Regions from separate parts of the Homo sapiens genome. Here regions 1, 2, 3, 4, 5 and 6 are each linked to region 7. The links are contacts of gene promoters, found by promoter capture Hi-C in blood cells and fetal thymus (Javierre and others, 2016). All regions are on one chromosome and are shown on one strand. Each heading gives the region's core, a stretch centred on a gene start or on the middle of the fragment in contact. The rest is flanking DNA. Distances are from core to core; before and after follow the strand shown. Region 1 overlaps CDC14A (cell division cycle 14A). Region 2 overlaps CDC14A (cell division cycle 14A). Region 3 overlaps CDC14A (cell division cycle 14A). Region 4 overlaps CDC14A (cell division cycle 14A). Region 5 overlaps CDC14A (cell division cycle 14A). Region 6 has its middle 75 kb from the start of LINC01307. Region 7 holds the start of SLC30A7 (solute carrier family 30 member 7).

Region 1 (2,700 bases), core at 153-2,652, 440 kb before region 7:
AATGAAACAGATATTTTGGATTTCAGATTTTCTGTAAAAATGTCTCTTAAGTGTCACTGTCATTCTCACTTCTATTTAAACACACACACACACGCACACACACACACACACACACACACAGAGAGAGAGAGAGAGAGAAAGATAGCTTCAGACTGAGAATCCCGACCATTTGAGGCATCAGCCTGCTCCTTTAATGAGAGAAGCCCAGTGTCCCGTTTAGTAAAGAGCCTGGGCAGGTTGAAGCCTGGCTCCATTCCTTTTTGGCTGCGTGAACTTCAGTGAGTTCCACAGCTTCTCTGAGCATCAGTTTTCCTATATATCACAGTGGGAGAAATATGATCCTCACTGCAGGCACCTAGTGAGGATTAGAGATGTTATGTGAAGTGCCTTGCAGAGTATTGGGCACACATAATAGGCGTTTATTAGATAGCAGGTATTATGGTTACATTTTTATCATTAGCTGGCCTAATCAACAGATTTTATGTCTTTCTACATTTGCCTGCTCAGTTTGCAGTTTTTACTTTTAATAATGACTGAGTGAACTAGTCATTTGACTCTGCTGTTCTTCAGTTTTCGAACTTTAAAATGAGGGCCTGGGAAGAGATGAATAAAAACATCTCTTTTGACTCTGATACCGTGTTCATGTGTTTGGTCAGCTTAACTCCAGGACTTTGTTGTGGTTCAGTGATGCCAGCGCACCATCTTGTGGCCAGATGGAGTAAGGGTCGGATGAAGGCTCCATAAGTTCTGGGTCGGCACATTATACACATTGCTAAAACCAATCTCTCGCAAAAAGCACTCACGTACATCCGTAAAAGCCACAAACAGTTGTTCACAGGTCATAGGACATTTCCATTGTTCGTTATAATTTATTCTAAACAGTTTTAAGGATTTTTATAAAACCTACTCACCAATTCTAACCGCTCATGTTCATATCATGTTCTCTTATTTGGAGTCTTAACAGATAGAATCAAGTTGAATCTTACTTGAAATTAGCCCCAGCATGGGTGTTGGAATCTGACTGCCAGGATTGAAATACTGGCTCTACCTCTTACTAGCTGTATGTGTACGGGCCAGCTTTTCCAGGCACCAGAAATTGAGTAATTGTAGGTTTTAATGAGATAATCCACATAAAGCACTTAGCATAGTGGCTAGCATATAGTAAGTGCTTGATAAACGTTAGGTGCAATTATTGTTGTTATTATTATTTCAGTGCCCTGTTGCCATATTTGGACAATTTCTGTCCAGTGTTTTCTTCTCAAAAGATGTATACATCGTTTCTCTTAATAGTCTATTTAGGCATGTTAGCTATGCTGCCATTTACTCATGATGGAAATTCATATATGAAAAGAGAGATTCTTGCAGCCTTTGTTGCAGGGAGGAAGGGGATAGGCACTGAACCAATTGCTAACACAACGTGTGACAGGTGCTGTCATGGAGGTCCCAGGCATGCTAGCAACCCAGAGGCAGAAGCTCTCACCAGCCCGCCACACCAGGGCAGGCTGCCCAGGTGTTTATGAGCCCTTCTCCTCCCCATTCCTCACATGATAGAAAAACCGTTACTTCTTAATGCCAACTACAGTTCTTTTTTTGCTTTAGGCTATAAATCTGTTGCAGGGAAATAATTTGAGCAAGTAAACCAACTAGGAAAACAGACTTGATTTTTGCAGTTAGAAAAGCATGTTTTCTCCATGTTTGTGTAGGTTATTGTTTCTACACAGAAGATTTTAAATAAGCTCTGTTTTACCTGTTTGCTCAAAAGCAACATAGCCTGTGAAAATCACATATCTGAGCTGTGGATTAATTGGTCCTGCCTTCCAATTCTGTCTTCATCCTTTGTGTGACCTGGCCAAGTGTACCAGTTATGGCTGTCCAACTCTGGTAAAAGGCAGTTTTTGGAATATGTTGGGTAGCTCATAGACTTTAAGAAAAGGCTGGAGAACTAGGCTTAGAAGATGAACAGGACCCAAGTGGGAAAATGGGAACCACACTAGGCATTTCAAACATAAAGCATTTAATACAAGGAGTTTATTTCAAAGAAGACTAAAAAGTAAAAAGGCAACACTGAAGAAACCAGAATATGTTGGAGAAAACAGCTAGTACCTTTAAGGCTGGGGGGACAAAAGGGACAAAAGTGGAGTTAGCAGAACCTGCTCCTGTTTTCTGCTGCTGAAGTGATGCTGCCAGGAGGACAGGAAGAATTCCCTTCCTCCTCCTCAGGTTGAGGTTTAGTGCCTCCCATTTTTACAACCAATAGGAAGCCAGATAGAAAGGTAGTCTGGGAAATGTAGGGCGTAGTATATGGACTCCAGCCCCAGTGTCACAGAGCATAAGAGTCGGCTTGGAGCTGAGAGCTGACTAGCATAACAGGGATCCAAGGCAGCAAGAAATACAGCCAAGCACACAGCGTGGAAACAGTCTGGTTCACTTTGCTGGCTGCCGCCACCCCTGGAACCTCCCATCATGAATGGGTTCCAACTGAGATAATTGCACTCAGCTGGTATGTTAGGGTTCAGTGAATTCTGAATGGGTTACAGATGTGGCCATCAGTGTGCTGGGAACTTAGTCCCCTGAACTTTTGGAGCTGCCATTGCAAGGCCTGCAAAGGCCAAAGCCCCCAGTGGTTGCCTTGGCTGATTAGCTAAGGCTAGGTCTGTAACCCAGCTGACTGTGTAGCTCCCAGGAATACTCACATGATGG
Region 2 (2,700 bases), core at 153-2,652, 480 kb before region 7:
TGAGTTTCTATGAGGGAGCCAGACTGACTGTGTGACCTTGAGCAACTAATTCTCAGTGCTTTTCCTGTAAAATGAAAATGGGAATAATAATGGAACCTAACTCGGGGTGATGTGAGGATTAATGAACCAAGTTATGTACAATGCCTAGAAGAGTGCCTGGCACATGGTATATACTGTTAACTTTTTGTTTTTATTGTTGTCATTATTGTGATCATTATCACCTATAGTTGAGTGTCATATTCTGGAGTCTAAAGGGTAAGGGAAAAGGTTCTGAGTTGGAGAAGAAAGGCATCATGGGACATAGTATTTGAGTTTAGGTCTAATGAAATATAGGTCTAATAGGTAGAAATGGTGAGGAAAGTATTCCAGAAAAACAACAACAACCTCAAATACCAGAGATATCAGGTATGTTTAGGGAAGGGTGAGGAGTCCAGGCTAGCGGGTAGGGTTCATTTGAGGAAAAATGACAAATTTACCTGAAAAGGCAGGCTGGGACGATATCTTGGTGAAGGGTTGGCAGTCTGGACTGGGCTTTTTGAGCAGGGTTGAGACTTTCCGAGCCCTGCTCTGGAACTACTGGAGTAGGCAGGAGGTGGAGGCAGAGAGAAATGGTGTTAGTCCTAGAGTACGGTGATAAGGGTTTGGATAAGGGTTTGAAATAACGTGATGATGATTGTCATGGAAGAAAGGTCCAGGTAGTTCACTGCGGAACTAATGAAATTTAAGACTCAGGGCCTTTTCTTGCTTAGTTCCGTCTCTCAAGCTGTTGAAGGGAAAATTTTTTGTAAAATATGAAAAGATGTTTGTATCCTCCGTCTTTGCTCCCCAAATGATGTGTTTCAGGCTCCCAAACCTGGATCTACCCCATAATTGAAAGAGACTGTGGATGGCCAGGAGTGGTAGCTCACGCCTGTAATCCCAGCACTTTGGGAGGCTGAGGCGGGTGGATCACTTGAAGCCAGGAGTTTGAGACCAGCCTGGCCAACATGGTGAAGGCCTGTCTCTACGAAAAATACAAAAAAGTAGCTGAATGTGGTGGTGTGTACCTGTAGTCCTAGCTACTTGGGAGGCTGAGGTGGGAGGATGGCTTGAGCCTTGGGGGTGGAGGTTGTAGTGAGCTGAGATTGTGCCACTGCACTCCAGCCTGTGTGACAGAGCCAGAACCTGTCTAAAATAAAATAAATAAAAAGAGAGAGACTGACTGTGACTGTGAAGAGATAATCAGTCTGGGTATTGACTTGATGTGGCTATCACGTGATGGAGAGGCCAAGGTCAAAGATGACTTTTGAGATTCTGGGTCTGGCTGACTGGGAGGAACCCCTCATGAGAAAGGGGGATGTTGGGAGCAGCCAGTTAGGGTGCGGTAGTTTCAAGCCAAGTGAGTGCTCTGCACTGGTTAGCTTCACCAGTAAAAGAAACATTTTCTTCTTATATCTGCCCACCCCCATCCTCAATTGCAGTTTTGCAAGCATGATAATTGTAAGTTACACAGTGCTAAGGAAAGGACTCAGCATTTCTGCTGATTAATGGGCTTCAGCCCAAAGCACACATCATAGTGATGTCTTTGTAATGTCCACAGTTAGTATTCTGTGTATTCTAAACCTAGTTGTCTGAAACTTGTAAATGGAGTCTCTCCTTTTTTGGCATAAGTCTTCCACATTTGGTAAATCATAGTGCTTTAAGACTATTTTAAAGTTGTAACATCAGTTTTCTGGAAATTGTATTTTGAAGGAATTTAATTGACTAAGACATGGTTGAAATGTTAATTTCAAAGCTATCGTGCCAATGTTCCAGTGGCAGCACCTACCTGGGAAAGGCTATTGTCAGCATTTGTTTCCTCTTTTTCACACAAGTAAAATATTAAACAAATAAAATTGAAGAATACTCTTTCAGATGGCCAAATTGAATCCTCAAGAGTATTTTCACTTTCCAAGTCACAAAATATAAATATAATTAATGTAGGGGCACAGATTTCACTTTTAAATATATATATATATACATATATATATACATATATACACACACACACACACACACACACACACACACATATATATATATATATATAGTGTGTATGTGTGTGTGTGTTATGCTTTGCTGAAAAGGTTTTTTTTTTTTTTTTTTTTTTTTTGGAGGAAAAATAGCACCTAAAAACAAAGCTAAAAACATAGTAAAGTTTGAGGCAAATGTCCCCAGAGAAAGATCATTAGCAAATTCATGACCCAGAGTCTGGTTGAGACTTCTCTATGAAGCCATTTATTGTTTTAAGAATCTCCCCTTGTGTATCAGAGAGGTTGAATTATCTGAGTAGAGAAATACAGTTGTAAATTCCAAAATGCTTCAGAAATTCACATATTATTTTGGAGCAGGTATTAAGGATTTAATGACTGCAGGATTTAGTTTAAAAAAATGATTTAGAAGTATTTGCAGATGAATTCTAAGAGGATTCTATATAACTTCTCATGTTGGTCTGGTGTTCCTCTATAAAATTAGTACAGACTTGATATTTGTTACATTGTTTCTCACGGTGTAGTAAACACAAATATTTAAAATTATAAGAGTTATGCATTTTAATATTCATTTATGTATAGACTCAGTGGCGGGTTTTCCCATTTATAGCAATGATATAAAACATTTTACATCAAATTGATTTAAGTCAAAAGTAAATGTGTGTTTAAAAAGAATGAATGGTAGTACATG
Region 3 (2,700 bases), core at 42-2,541, 420 kb before region 7:
AAAGTACATCTACTTTATTTTCCAGAAATGGTGTTATTGCCTTATATTTTAAGGTAATTAGTCTGCCTATAATTTTCGGCATGAAATCTGCTGTGGCAGTCTGAATAATGTCTCCCCAAATACAGGCATATTTTAATCCCTGTGAACCAGCTGTGAATGTTACTGTATATGGAAAAAGGGACTTTGCAGAAGTGATTAAGTTAAGGAAGTTGATGTGGGGAGATTATCCCGGATTGTTTGGGTGGGCCCAATTAATCACAGTGTCCTTAGAAGAGGGACCCAGGGGGAGCCATTTAGAGGAGAAGCCGATGTGATGACTGAAACAGATTGGACTGATGCATTTTAAAGATGGAGTAAGGAGCCATAAGCCAAGGAATATGGGCAGCCACTGTAAATTGAAAAAGGCAAGGAAACAAATTATCTCCTCAAAGCCTCCATATGGAACCAGCTCTGCCTACTGTCACTGCTTTAGCTCAGTGAAACTGATTTCAGACTTCCAACTCCAGATCTGTAAGAAAGTAAACTGGTGTTCTTTTAAACCACCACATTTACGGTAATGCTTTACAATATCCATAGGAAATTAATACATCTGCTTTGTATAGATAGCAAATATGTACAGCAGGAGATGCAGATCCTAGTGATGAACATGCATATTCTGAACTTCTCTTATTCATCATACTTTCTAATTTGGAGTATTTAATTCCAAATACTCCAAATTAGAAAGTATGATGAATAAGAGCATATAGAGGAGTCGTGTGACTTAAGTGTTATTTAAGGAAGCTTGAGTTGCAACAATGTGTAAGATGAATTGGGTGGATGGAGATTGGAATCAGAGAGGCTAAAAAGGAGGCTATTATCATCCATCTCAGAGAGACAAGGACTTATCAAAAGAGGATAGAAGTTGGACTGAAGATTTAGAGATGGGTACCAGGGACATTTCAAGAAAAAAGAAAAAAACAAGGCTTTGAAGACTAACTAATGATCAGAGAGATGAAGAGTATGAAGTCAATGATGACGCAAAAGCATGAATAAGTAACGTGTTCATTAAGCAAGAAATAAGAGGGTAAAAACGTTTTCTGTTAGGTTTTCACCTGTCAAAAATGACTGAACAAGTTAAAGTGATTGTATTCTTTTAAAGGTGAAAAGTCAATCAGTGCTTTTTAGAGAATGTTAATTCCAAATCTCTGACTTTAGAAAGGCTGGTTTGTCATATCCTCCTAGTCCTTGAGGACCAAAATATGTCCAGGTGCTTGATTGCCATGTCTTAAACAAGCAGCCCTCTTATTCACTGGCAGTAAGAGAGATGTTTATTAGCATCCTTTTGAGTTGTTGATGAATTTACTTATTGGCTGACCTCTCCTTTGTTACAGTCTGAAATTTTATATTTAAACTTTTAAAGGATATAAAGCTCTCTATTTGCAAAACAACCATCAGGTGTTTTTCTTCTATTTAAAGCTGAAGTTCTTAAACCAAAAATACCATTCTGAATCCCAAATGTGTCTTCTATCAAACATCCTCAAGGTTCTTAAAATGATGTAAAAATACATCTTTTTGTTTTTGAGCCAACTCTGGACTCAATGTCCTCCGAGACAACCTTTAGAAGTATAAAGGTGGAGTCAGGCTGCTTTTACAACTTGGTTGATTCTATTTATTGAACATTTGCTGTGTGAATGTTCCCCTGACCTTGGGTATCATTATCTATCTGTGATAGATAACCTATATCACAGATAGATAGATCTATCTGTGACAGATAACCTATATCACAGATAGATCTATCTGTGACCTCGGGGATCATCATCTGTTAAAGCTTTCATTCATTATAAAGGGATCATTGAGGGACTAGTGTGGGGCTCCCACGGGGATTTTCAGCTCACGGAGATCCTTTATTTATGGGGCTCAATATGGCATTGTTTTTGTTTTACATTTCCTTCTGAGACAGAGAGAACTCACATAAAGCCTAAATCTGGCTCTTGCAGGAAGTTTTGGCTCTGTAAAGCAGAGCTTCCATTTTGAATGAGGTTATCTTTATGAAGCACAGTATTATGGTTGAACTCTTTTTCATTCTTAAATCCATAAACCAAAAATTCCCCTGTTCTACTTTATTACAATAGATGTTTTCATCAGCTTCTACTGAGTTGGATATTTTCAGAATTCTAACTTTGTTGCAAGCCTTCCATTGTCTTCAGTGCTTCTCAAACATGAAAATGCCTAGGAATTGTTGGGGGATCTTGTTCAGTGCAGTCTCTGATTCAGCAGGTCTGAGGTGAGACCTGAGAGTGTGCATTTCTAACAGGCTCCCAGGTGGTGTGCTGCTGCTGGTCCCTGAACCATATTCAATAACAAGGGTGTTTGGCTCATCCTTACTCTGTAAATATCAACTTAGGCTACATCTTAATTTGGTGCCAATAGTATTTCGTAAGTTTCACAATTGGATTGAGCTAGATCAGAAATTAATAGTTAAACCATTGCTTTTTTATTTCAGGAATTAGCAAAAATAAGATGAAAAACATCTGTTTAGAAAATGGAAAATGCTTGAAAAAGTCTAACACTAATGGTTTGAGTTTTAGTTGAGATTGACTTCTATCATTTCCTTTTAAAAAAAGTTAATTCTTTTTTAAATTTCAATAGCTTTTGGGATACAAGTGGTTATTGGTTACATGGATGAATTGTATAGCATGAACTCCGAGATTTTAGTGCACC
Region 4 (2,700 bases), core at 118-2,617, 380 kb before region 7:
TAAGTCCTATCAAGTCTCCCTCTAAAATGCCTCTGTCCTTCCATTCTTACCACTGCTGCCTTAATTGGGGTCTTCATGAACTATCGCATAGCCCTTTCTGTCTTCCTGTCTCTTACCTTTAATCTTTCCTCTATACTGTTGCCAGTGTTAAATTTCTGAGACACAGAGCTAATCAAATCCTTCTCATGTTTGGCTTTGTTCAGTGGCTGCACTCTGCCTACTGGGTCAAGTCTGGCTCCCCTGGCTTGGCATTCAGGGTTCTTCCCTGTCGGGCTGTGTGCCTCCCTGCCAGCCTCCTCTCCAGCAGCTCTACCTGGCACGACCTGCCTTAAGCCTGAACCCTAGCACTTGCAGTCCACTCTGCTTTCCCTTGTTTCTCTGCTTGATTTTGTATTTCTTGACCTGGCTCGATAGTTATCTTTTTGATAAGCATTTGTGACCCATCTAAACAGAATGGCTCTTCCTTTCTCGACTCTCCTAGGAGCGCTGACACTCTCATATTATAGTCAGTTATACATGATTCTCTCTCTCCTCTGCTTTCCTTTAAGCTTCTCAGAAACATCTCTTGTTTCCTGAGGTTCCACAGTACAGTATAAGTGCCTAATAAATACTTATTGAACTAAAAGTCAGATAATGTATCTGGGTTCGTGAATGTTAAAGTGTTTAGGAGCCTGGGTCTCATTGTTAGCATATGAAGCACTAACAGAAAACAAACAAGTTTCCAGCTTTAGCTTTAATATACGGTAATCTGGGAGTTGTGTATTTTTTTTCTAGAAATGTGGCTTTACTAAAATAAGAGAAAATAAATTTTAACTGAGTTTGCATCAATATAATTTTGGTGTTCAGATGAACTGAAAACACTCATGTAATGGTTGGCTGAGTCAAGCTGGGTGTCAACAATCTGTCATCTAACAATTGAGCTCTTTGTGATTGTTGAAAAGCATATATTAAATTTCTCCAGAAAAAAGAATCTATTAAAAATCATGTAGGAAGGTGAAAGACTATTTTATATAGCATTATAATGAGCCCAAATTGGCTTTTTAAGTCTTGAAGTCCCTGAAATGCACAGAGAACACTATGGAAAAATGCACACACACCTTTCGAACCTGATTTTAACACAAACCTTCATCCTTTTATCTTAATATGATGCCAATAAAACCATACCCAGCTACATTTCATCTAGTGTTATTGGAGGAAATATGTATCATATTAACAGAGGCAAATTCTTTCAGTATTGTACATGTTGGGTACAATATACACTACTTGGGTGACAGGTGCACTAAAGTCACAGACTTCACCACTATACAATTCATCCATGTAGCCAAAAACCACTTGTACCTCAAAACCTATTGAAATAAAAAATAAAAAATACTTTCAGTATTGTGAAACCACAGTTATGGAAATAAGTATCAATGCACACATTTTATGTGTTAATTTGTGAGCAATACAAAAACTGGAAACTCTATTACAAAGGCTTAAAGAGACATAGGAGTACAGAGGCAGTTATGGGTGTATTTATTTTTCCCCAGTGTTGTATTTGTTCATTAAAACTTAAAACACTATAGTTATGTATATAAAATACCATGTTGCCAAGCATGTATTTTTTCCTTTAATTTCAATCACATTAAAACAAACCATTTTTATTTTAGGTTCTTTTTGCCTCTGTGGTTAGAACTTAAACCAGGGATAACTAGTACACTATTGTTTATTCCTTAAAGGACTGGGGAAAATGTAGGAAAGAAAATGTCAGTGTGGCAAAAAAGTCCATGAACATTTTGAATCAGGATTTTGACCTTAGTAGGATGCTAACATTCCAGGCCATTGGATCCTTTGGTTCAAGTTATTTGAACATTAAGACATCGTTACATTCATTTGCTGTCAAGGACCTTAATCTTTCATTATTCTTTATAATTTGCTGTTTTTGATAGCTAACATGTTTTATTTATTAACCATCTGTACAATATTTATATCTGTAATTATTAGACATGTTCCTGCCATGATTAGGTAACTGGGCTGTTTAAAAAAGAAACACCTCCAGAATAGCTAAAATTTTAAAGTTACTACCTACATCTGCCAAAACAGATTAGTAGCAGATTTCCAGAACAGAACAAATTGTCTTGATCTCCTTACCTAACACTTTGTTTTATGTCAAATCTTACTGCTTTCAGGGAACAAGACTTCTTGATGGAAGCTTATATTTTGACATAAAAATTTTGGGGGCTGCAAATGTAAGGCAATTTTATCCTTATTTTTCAGGTTGAATATTGCTACATTATTAATTTTATGGTATTCATACAATAAGAATACCACATATTCATAATAAACTTGATCTGGTCCTAACTCACTATAACTCTGTTGAGCTTACTAATTAAATGAGCTTGAATATTATATTTGAGAAATTAAAATCTCTTGGTTATATAAACAAGGGCTAACTTCTAAAATAATATTTGTACTTCAGGTATAAAAATTATTTTCACTTTCTTTATAACCATCTTCACTGTCATTGTTATAATTTATTTTGTATTTCAGATTCATTAATTCATTATTGTAACAACTAAAAACATTGGCCAATCAGAATTAAAACTTTAATCAACTCATAATACTTAAGCATGGATGTTCTTATAATGAAAATTTCTTTTAAATTTAGAATATTCCTGAAAATTCTTTGAATTCAGGCCTGATGAAAATCATTCAAAAATG
Region 5 (2,700 bases), core at 187-2,686, 450 kb before region 7:
TCAAATCTTTTTCTTTCTACTTAAACAACTACAGAGATACTCTAGCCCACTCTTGCAACAATATTACCAAGGTGCATTTCCAGTAATGCCAGTTAAGAGCTTCTATGGAGACGTTACCCAACATATAACAGTTGATTATAGCATTTGGAAAATATGCCTGAGGGAAAAAATAATTTATTTATCGTCACTATTATTATTTTGCCTTTTCTACCATCTGCTACAGGCCATTTGTTTTATAACACTTAAAAAATTTAGAAAGTTCACACTGGAATATCGCTGCCTGTAATTATGGTAATTAGTAACTCAGTATAGAAAGTTGTGGCATCCTTCCTGTTGTAGAGGAAAGGTATGTAAACTTGTTTCATCAAATGTTGGGGTTAACTCAAAGACAAATGAGATTTTGGAGGATCTGATAGATTGTGCAGCATGTCTTTAAGCACCTGAGACATTTCCTGTAAGTTCATTCTCTTACATAAGGCACCATATTCTGGGCTATTTTTGTGTGGCAACGAGTAGTACCATTCCAAGAACCTATACAGAGTATGGCCACATTTTTGCCTTTTTAGGGAGCACATTTCTCTGATTTTAATGTATTGGCATTGTCATAAGTATAGTTTATATTCCATGTTATGTGAACTACTATACATGGATATAAGCAAACCCTTTGAAAATACAGAGGAAAAAAAAGTGAATCCTTCAGAGAGTTTGTATATTTTTCTCACTTTTTTGTCTGGAAAGGTGCATATGGATGAACTCAGTTTTTTTTTTTTTTTTAGAATGGACTAATTTAAATAATTTGTTCTGCTTATTCTGTAGGGGTTGTTTAAACCAGTGTTATCAGAATTTTGCATTTCTAAGAATCACCTGGGAAGCTATGCTGAAAATGGTGATCCTGGGCCCCAACCACAGCAAATATGATTTGATAGTTCTGGGGTGGGGCCCAGGAGTCTGCTTCTTTCATATGAATTACCCTAAGTGTTTCTGATGCTGATGGCGCATGTTCTGTGTTTTGAAAAAACACTGATAGATGTACTGGAGCTTGGCTTGCTAGTTTCTTTTTCTATTTTTAATGACTTGATCATGTAACTTTTAAATGTACCTGTGGTTTTGTATTCTGTTGTAATCTGTATAGCTTCATGATTTATAAAATAAAAGATTCTGTTCTCTTTAAAATATTAGATCTGAGCTAGCTGGATAGTTTTTAAAAGTTCTAAGTCATTGTTTACAAAACTGAGTATGACTTTTACTTTGTGATAAAAATATGTTTTTTTTTTTAAATTGTAAGAGCAGTCAAGTATAATTCTACTTTGTCAGAAACTATCTCATGAAACAGATTCTCCCAAGGTAGAGTTTTAGGAACAAATAAGGGCCTATTAAGTAGAAATATTAAGAAATATTACATATATATTATGTATTGTATATATAAATATACTATATTATGTATTATATATAAATATACTATATTATATATAGTATATATAAATATATACTATATATTATATATAAATATATATATTCTCTCATCAAATATTATTAAGGACCTATTAAGTAGAAATATTAAGGAAGAAAAAACAGTAAAAGATGCAGGGTTTTTTTGGGGGGCTAAATATCTCCCTATGATAAAAGGAAGACAAAAACTCATAAGAATAATTGATTTTTCTTCTCCTAACAAAGAAGTTAATCACTATGATCTATTCTGTCATAGTTAGGTCTAGTTCCCAACAGGTTCTAACTATAAATTTGTTTTATTTCATTTTGTATACATATAATTTTACATACAAAACTGATGTAAATTAGAAATCAAGGCATCTTTTGTGGGGCTTTTTCATGTTATTCTAAGTGTTTTTTTAGTTCCAGTAAGACAGTCTTAATGCAATATAACCAGTTTTATAAAAAGATTTCTAGATATGCATTAAACATCAAAGGTTTCAAGCTGTCTCTTCAGATTAGTGAGGATCATTTCTGTAAGTAGGAGTTCCAGAAATGATGAGTAGAGTTTATCAATTTAGCATGGAAAAACTAATTCAAATTCTGCTTTTAGGGATTACAACATGGATTTTTTGACTTTGAGACATTTGATGTGGATGAATATGAACATTATGAGGTTTGTACATTTAATTTTTTTTACAAAACATAATTTCATGTTGATTAATTTTTTCCCCCTGTCACACTCATGTATTGCAAATCGAGTGGGTGCTAAATAAAAGCATTCTGGAGTTTTCCATAGTGGTCAGTTTTGTCCTTTCAGCCTTGGTTATTTCCTTTGAATCAGGAGTCACCAAAATTTTATTTTGGAAAAACAACATATCTATATATATTCTCTCATTTATATACAATCACTTTGCACCTTTAGTTTATAAGAAAAATCTAGTAGGGTAGTAAAATTATGTTACTTTTATTTTAGAAATCAGGTTTTATTTAAAATAAAACTGAATTTGTACCTTTTATTTATTTATTTTTGAGGCGGTGTCTAGCTCTTTTGTCCAGGCTGAAATGCAGTGGCACAATCTCGGATCACTGCAACCTCTGCCTCCCCAGGCTCAAGCTATCCTCCCACCTCAGCCTCCCAAGCAGCTGGAATTACAGGTGCATGCCACCATGTCTGGCTAATTTTTTTTTTTTTTTAAAGACAGGATTTCACCATGTTGCCCAGGCTGGTCTTGAACTCCTGAGCTCAAGTGATCCTCTTGCCTCGGCCTC
Region 6 (2,700 bases), core at 51-2,550, 500 kb after region 7:
GGTTAAGCCAAGGGAAAAATATGAAATTCACAATACATTTTAAAAATGTGACACAAAATGAAATTTTTTATGGTTTGTAAGATTTAACGTGCCTTTTCCCTTGTAATGGAAGCTATGTTTTTGCACAGAGGAGAAGTATGGTATTTTATGAGAAGACATGCTATGAATGACGAAAGGCTCTATTTCAGCAAGTCACAGGCAGAAAAGTCCAAAACAATTGAATAGAACTGCAGCATTGTTGAAAGTAGGTACTTTTTTTTATTATTCAACATACACTTTAAAATCTAAATATTATTGCTATGTATAAAAATGTGGTCTGTACATTTCTATGCTAAATAGCATGACTTCTTAATAATGTCTTTTGATTGTTTGGTTGTAAGAGCATAGGTAGTCCTTGCTTTCATTTTTACTATCCAAAAAATTAAACCATCTATAAGGCCCTCTACGACCAAAGCTCTCCTTTTTCCTGTGTCTATCACAAGCACAAGGTGGGCTCTTGGGGAAGGACTTACCTTGCTTGTCTACTGCAGCAGCTCTGTTTTGCCCAGATGGCTGCAGATACACAGGCTGCACAGGAAATAACAGGCTATGAATCAATGGGAAAACAGATTTAGAAATCTGGTTATTTGAATTTTTAGTTGGTTGGAAATTTGGCCATAGCCTCAGGTCAGAAATGGAGAGATATAAACTGAGTCTGCTCTACCATAGGTATTTGCAAAAGCTTCCTTTCTTCCTTCATTTCTAAATAGAAACATCCTTACTGTTATTTCCTCACAAGTATAGACATAATATATGCTTTTTTTGGAAAAAAATAATTATGTATAGAATAGAAAGTAAAATTCTCTCCCTATCCCCAATGTCATCCCCTTCAGTCATAACCCACTGTTAATATTTTGTTATTAATCATTCCAAATATTTTCTATAAATGTTAACACAATTTTATTTTTTTGAAACAAAAACATATGGCAAGGTTATCTTTTGCCTTAACACTGTGAATATATTAGACATCTTTCTGGATCATTACCTACAGCACTATAGCTCATCCTTCAAATAGAAGTATTATTATTTATTCAACAAATAAATACTATCGTTGATGAGATTGCTCCTGTTACACATGGTGCTGCAAGGAGTGTCTTTTCACTTACATCTTTCCACACTTACCCTTTTATTTCCTATGATAAATTCCAACAACATGGAATTGCTGGATCAAATATTGAGTATAATTTATGTTGAACATATTGCCAATGGCCCTCCAGCAGTGTACTAAATACACTGCCACCAGATATGTACACTAATGTCAAGTCTCCCACATCTTGCCCACACTGGCTATTACCAATTTTTTTAACTTTTGCGAAATTGATAGACAAAGACCAATATCTCATTTTGCTATAAATTATGTAAATTTTTTTTTTTTAAATCAAGCCTAGTTGTGTTTTCTGCGGTAAAACATTGTATCATTTGGCTTTAGGACTCCTGCTTTGCTCACACTCATCAGTACATTGCTGGGTGTTGTTGAATCTTTAGCTGCAGTCTATTCCCCTACCTAAGCACAGGGGTAATTGATTTCTCTCTCTGATATAGATCCTCAATATATTTACACACACATAATCACAAGCCTTAATCACACATATACCACATTATATACATACAATCACACACACATGCACACCATATCACACACAAAATCACACATGCAATCGTTCACACACACCACATCACATTACAGAGTGTCACTGTAAAGCAATGAAAATGAAATCAGTGTTCTGCCCCCTAGTTCAGACACCCATCAAATTCCTGGGGCACTTCAAAAACTCTGTGATGATTGTAGCCTTTCTCACATGCCAGCCTCATCATTTCAGTTCTCTGGAACCTCCCTCTAGAAGCTTTTTTTGCAAGCTGAGAGCTATTTCCTTCTTGCTGGACATATTTGCACTCTCACAGCACAAATCACAAAGGCTGCAGGTAAGGATGTGGGAACTAAAGTTCTTGGGTACAAACTCAAATTTACAAGACACGGTTTACATCTGTTCTCTCTCTCATTCAAACCAGTGCATATTATTTCCCCTTGAAAAAATTCAAGGATTTTGAAGAATTAAATGGTGGAAAGGCATAAGTAGAATCCAGTTTTGTCTGGCTTTTGCTCAAAACATTTTGATTTACCATTAGCCCAGTGTTTCTTTCCTAATGCACAGTTTTCTCTATTGATTTTTTTCCTTTGTCACCAACATTGCTCAAAACGGAACTGTTAAAATACGCTGACCTGTTTTCTTTGTTCAGAGTTCCTTAGCAATGAGACTTACACAGAACCTATCCATCAAATTCAGTATTTAATTAAAGTACAAAGTTAGATTGGGGAAATATGAATAATAGAGCTTGAAAGGAATTTGTATATGAATGCTAGTTTTCCCTTTAGTTTTCTGTGTGTAAGCCTGGATCTAGCTCTTTAGAGAGGCGTTCATGTAATAAGAGTAAATTCTGAGCCAGACAGACCTGGGTTTACATCCTATGTGTGTTTGACCACAGAATAATTTCTCTTTCTGAGCCTTGACTTTTTTCCTTTTCTTTTTGTGACAGGGTTTTACTCACGTCGCCCAGGTGGAGAGCAGTGGCGCATTCATGTGAACCTTGATTTTTTTGGCATGTAAAATGGGATTAATAAAAGTACCACTAGCTATGAGAATTAGATGAGTATTTTGTACA
Region 7 (2,700 bases), core at 126-2,625:
TTGCTCATTTTTGTTTTTTTTTCTAAACCAAGTAGCGTGCATCTATCCTTCTCCATTAGCTGGATTAACAACCTGGAAAAAGTGCCGCCCGCAAAGTGAGCGCCTGGAGCAAGGGACAGTCCCCGAGTGGCCGCCCCTCCCTTTCGGTGACGCTCCACTTCCTGTCGGCCTAAAAGGCATTCCCAGGAAGCTCGGTTTTGTAGTTTCCAGCCCACCTCCGAAAGCCAATCCTTTCCTCCATTTCTTCTCCAAGGTAACAACTTTTAAACATTCACGTGACGGACCACCTTCCCTCAGCCAAACAACTTCCCTGAAAGGCGCCCGAAGGAGCCTTCCCATCCACCGCGGGTGCCCAGGAAAGGCCTGTGGGGCTCTCCTCCCCGCGCTCCACACGCCCTCGCATCCCACCGAGGGGCCAGCTTCTGCCTGCACGTTGCTGAAACTGGCCTGGAGGTTCTGACAAGAATTAGAGCGGCGGCCGTTGCCCCGGGGATGACCTGGAAGCGAAAGAGACCGGCACGAATTCTAGAGTTTCGGGGTTTCCGCGGGTTGAGATTGTACGGGAAACAATGCATTAACCAAACCTAAAAATCAAACAAACACGTCTGGTAGAACCTACCATTAAAAAGCTTCTTTCCTATACTACGTTTAACAGCCTTTATTTTGAAAGACATTGATTGATGCCAGGCATGGTGGCGCACGCCTGAGGTCTCAGCTACTCCGGAGGCTGAGGAGGATCACTTGCGTCCGGGAGTTCCAGGCTGTAGTGAGCCTCATTGTGCTCCAGCCTAGGTGACAGGGCGAGACCTTGTCTCTTAAAAAAATAAAGAAAGAAAAACATTGATCGCCTCCTGCGTGGCAGTCCAGAAGGGTCAAGCGCTGTTTTCGGGGTGGCGTGGAATGGATTCCTAAGATTTGGGCGCCCATAGAGTTAACGCAGCAAAACGATCACTTGCGTTTCCTGCGGACTGGCGGCAATAGAACACGTGGCTGCCTAGACTCTTAATCACTGATATCTACCACACCAGGATTTAATGCCAGTTGGGAGGAAATGGCGAAAGGGCAGGCGCTGGAGCCCATGCATCCGGGAACACTGGTGGTAGGCGGTCGGGTGGGCGTGAGCGGGCTCTCCATCTCCCAGCCCAGTCTGCAGGTCGCCACCTCAGGATTTTCTTCCTGAGTCCGGGTGGCAGGATTCCATCCCAGGTCAGCCCCTCACACCCCCTGGTAGTTGCCACCTCCTGGCGTCCCTCCAACAGCTCCAGCACCTTTCTCATCCCGCCCCCGCCGCAAGCCACGCCCTCCGCCGCGCAGGCCCCGCCCGCGACCGGCCTCCCTCCTTTCCTGTCCCAGGACGCGTTGCGCGGCCCGGGCCGGAAGTAAGCGAATTCCCGGGTGTGTGTCTGTGTCTGTCTGTGTCTCGCAGCGGCGCGCGGCCCCGGACAAGCGCTGGGGATTCCCGTTTGAGGCGTCACTACTGTCACTGCCATCACCCCACGGAGCCACTTCTAGAGGGGAGTAGACCCGGCCCTTCGCCGGGCAGAGAAGATGTTGCCCCTGTCCATCAAAGACGATGAATACAAACCACCCAAGTTCAATTTGTTCGGCAAGATCTCGGGCTGGTTTAGGTGCGGGGTGCTGTGTTTGCGGGGAGGGGGTGTCCGGCAGAAAGGGAGAAGGCCCAGACCTCAGGATGGCCCGAGGTCCAGTGAGGGAGAGTCAAAAACTCCCCGTCAACCCCTAGCTGTGAAGAAAGGAGCATGTGAACTGGGAGGGTCTTGAAGAGGGTACCCAGCCTCGGGGTCCCGGCACCTCCTTAACTCTCCCGGCTCTTTTCCACGTGTATCATTCCCAGGTCTATACTGTCCGACAAGACTTCCCGGAACCTGTTTTTCTTCCTGTGCCTGAACCTCTCTTTCGCTTTTGTGGAACTACTCTACGGCATCTGGAGCAACTGGTAACCAAAGGGGAAAATGGTTTGGGCGGAAGCTGGGTGTGAGGGAGACGAAGCACTGTTTGCTTAATGCCACGTAGCTCCTCACTAGGAGGTTCAGGTCCTACCTTTGTTACCTACCTCTGCTGCTGAGTTGCTTTCTCATACCCACACCAATCTGGTAGGGCTACAGTTCTTGAGTAAGATCTGGGCCTATCCTGTGCAACCTCTCTTGTCACGCTCCCCTCCAGTTCCATCAGACAAGACTGACAAGCCCCTCCTTATTTTAGCAGATGGGCAGAATCTTTCATTTCTAATTGTAGGCCTTAGGTTTACCCACTTTGTTGGAATTGGGAGAAACTTGTTTGCTGCCTCTCTCGGGGGGGAGTGGCATTTGGATTTCACCCTTAAGATTCTGAGAGAGTATATCTGAGATGTTCTACTTAGTTTGTTATTGGGGCTTGGAATGGGAGGTTTTATAAAGTGATATCGGGAGGAATATGTGTCATTCTCTTCTCTCTTTAATGCCGAAACTGTCTCATGATTTTCCTGTAGTCTTAACTGCGATGTAAAAATCCCATATAGTTTCTAGAAACAACATTTCTTGGGTTTTGGTGGCACCTTTGAGGGTTTTTGTTTTTTTTGAAACATCCTTAGGAGGAGGAAAATCTAGTGTGTAACTCTGTGGCAGTGAAGTTACTATTATTCAGGTATTTGCTGTTGAGTAACTTAAGGTCTTATGAAGTTGTTCTGCTAACAAGACTGTC

Evidence for each region. The method cuts DNA at HindIII sites, captures the fragments that hold promoters and counts their contacts. A CHiCAGO score of 5 or more calls a contact.
Region 1: a contact is called between a fragment that was not itself captured here and the fragment with the promoter of SLC30A7 in region 7, in 10 of 17 cell types (monocytes, erythroblasts, megakaryocytes and 7 more). The highest score is 11.6, in monocytes.
Region 2: a fragment that was not itself captured here is called in contact with the fragment with the promoter of SLC30A7 in region 7 in 1 of 17 cell types (activated CD4 T cells); the score reaches 5.9 in activated CD4 T cells.
Region 3: a fragment that was not itself captured here is called in contact with the fragment with the promoter of SLC30A7 in region 7 in 1 of 17 cell types (erythroblasts); the score reaches 5.7 in erythroblasts.
Region 4: a fragment that was not itself captured here is called in contact with the fragment with the promoter of SLC30A7 in region 7 in 2 of 17 cell types (monocytes and megakaryocytes); the score reaches 7.0 in monocytes.
Region 5: a fragment that was not itself captured here is called in contact with the fragment with the promoter of SLC30A7 in region 7 in 9 of 17 cell types (naive CD8 T cells, total CD8 T cells, neutrophils and 6 more); the score reaches 8.4 in naive CD8 T cells.
Region 6: a contact is called between a fragment that was not itself captured here and the fragment with the promoter of SLC30A7 in region 7, in 1 of 17 cell types (total B cells). The highest score is 9.0, in total B cells.

What each region holds. Positions count from the first base shown.
Region 1 is chr1:100,459,008-100,461,707 of GRCh38, forward strand. The region is part of intron 8 of CDC14A (cell division cycle 14A); the gene reads left to right. Among named protein-coding and RNA genes, the nearest start is that of GPR88, 78 kb to the right of the region's middle. The HindIII fragment of the contact is 3,674 bases long and covers 1-2,700 here.
Region 2 is chr1:100,418,015-100,420,714 of GRCh38, forward strand. The region is part of intron 4 of CDC14A (cell division cycle 14A); the gene reads left to right. LOC105379827 (a long non-coding RNA gene) reads right to left here. Exons shown (of 3, transcript XR_007066254.1): 2 at 1-576. Among named protein-coding and RNA genes, the nearest start is that of CDC14A, 67 kb to the left of the region's middle. The HindIII fragment of the contact is 2,942 bases long and covers 1-2,700 here.
Region 3 is chr1:100,476,669-100,479,368 of GRCh38, forward strand. The region is part of intron 10 of CDC14A (cell division cycle 14A); the gene reads left to right. Among named protein-coding and RNA genes, the nearest start is that of GPR88, 60 kb to the right of the region's middle. The HindIII fragment of the contact is 1,027 bases long and covers 779-1,805 here.
Region 4 is chr1:100,511,701-100,514,400 of GRCh38, forward strand. The region is part of intron 15 of CDC14A (cell division cycle 14A); the gene reads left to right. Among named protein-coding and RNA genes, the nearest start is that of GPR88, 25 kb to the right of the region's middle. The HindIII fragment of the contact is 1,643 bases long and covers 547-2,189 here.
Region 5 is chr1:100,440,893-100,443,592 of GRCh38, forward strand. CDC14A (cell division cycle 14A) reads left to right here. Exons shown (of 16, transcript NM_003672.4): 7 at 2,042-2,104. Among named protein-coding and RNA genes, the nearest start is that of CDC14A, 90 kb to the left of the region's middle. The HindIII fragment of the contact is 5,917 bases long and covers 1-2,700 here.
Region 6 is chr1:101,397,219-101,399,918 of GRCh38, forward strand. No RefSeq gene overlaps it. Among named protein-coding and RNA genes, the nearest start is that of LINC01307, 75 kb to the left of the region's middle. The HindIII fragment of the contact is 1,162 bases long and covers 720-1,881 here.
Region 7 is chr1:100,894,715-100,897,414 of GRCh38, forward strand. SLC30A7 (solute carrier family 30 member 7) reads left to right here and starts at 1,376. Exons shown (of 11, transcript NM_133496.5): 1 at 1,376-1,628; 2 at 1,856-1,957. The coding sequence starts at 1,549. It overlaps EXTL2 (exostosin like glycosyltransferase 2), which reads right to left and starts at 128. Exons shown (of 5, transcript NM_001033025.3): 1 at 1-128. RefSeq lists enhancers at 1-183, 184-906, 801-870, 1,421-1,670, 1,721-1,880. The HindIII fragment of the contact is 2,158 bases long and covers 628-2,700 here.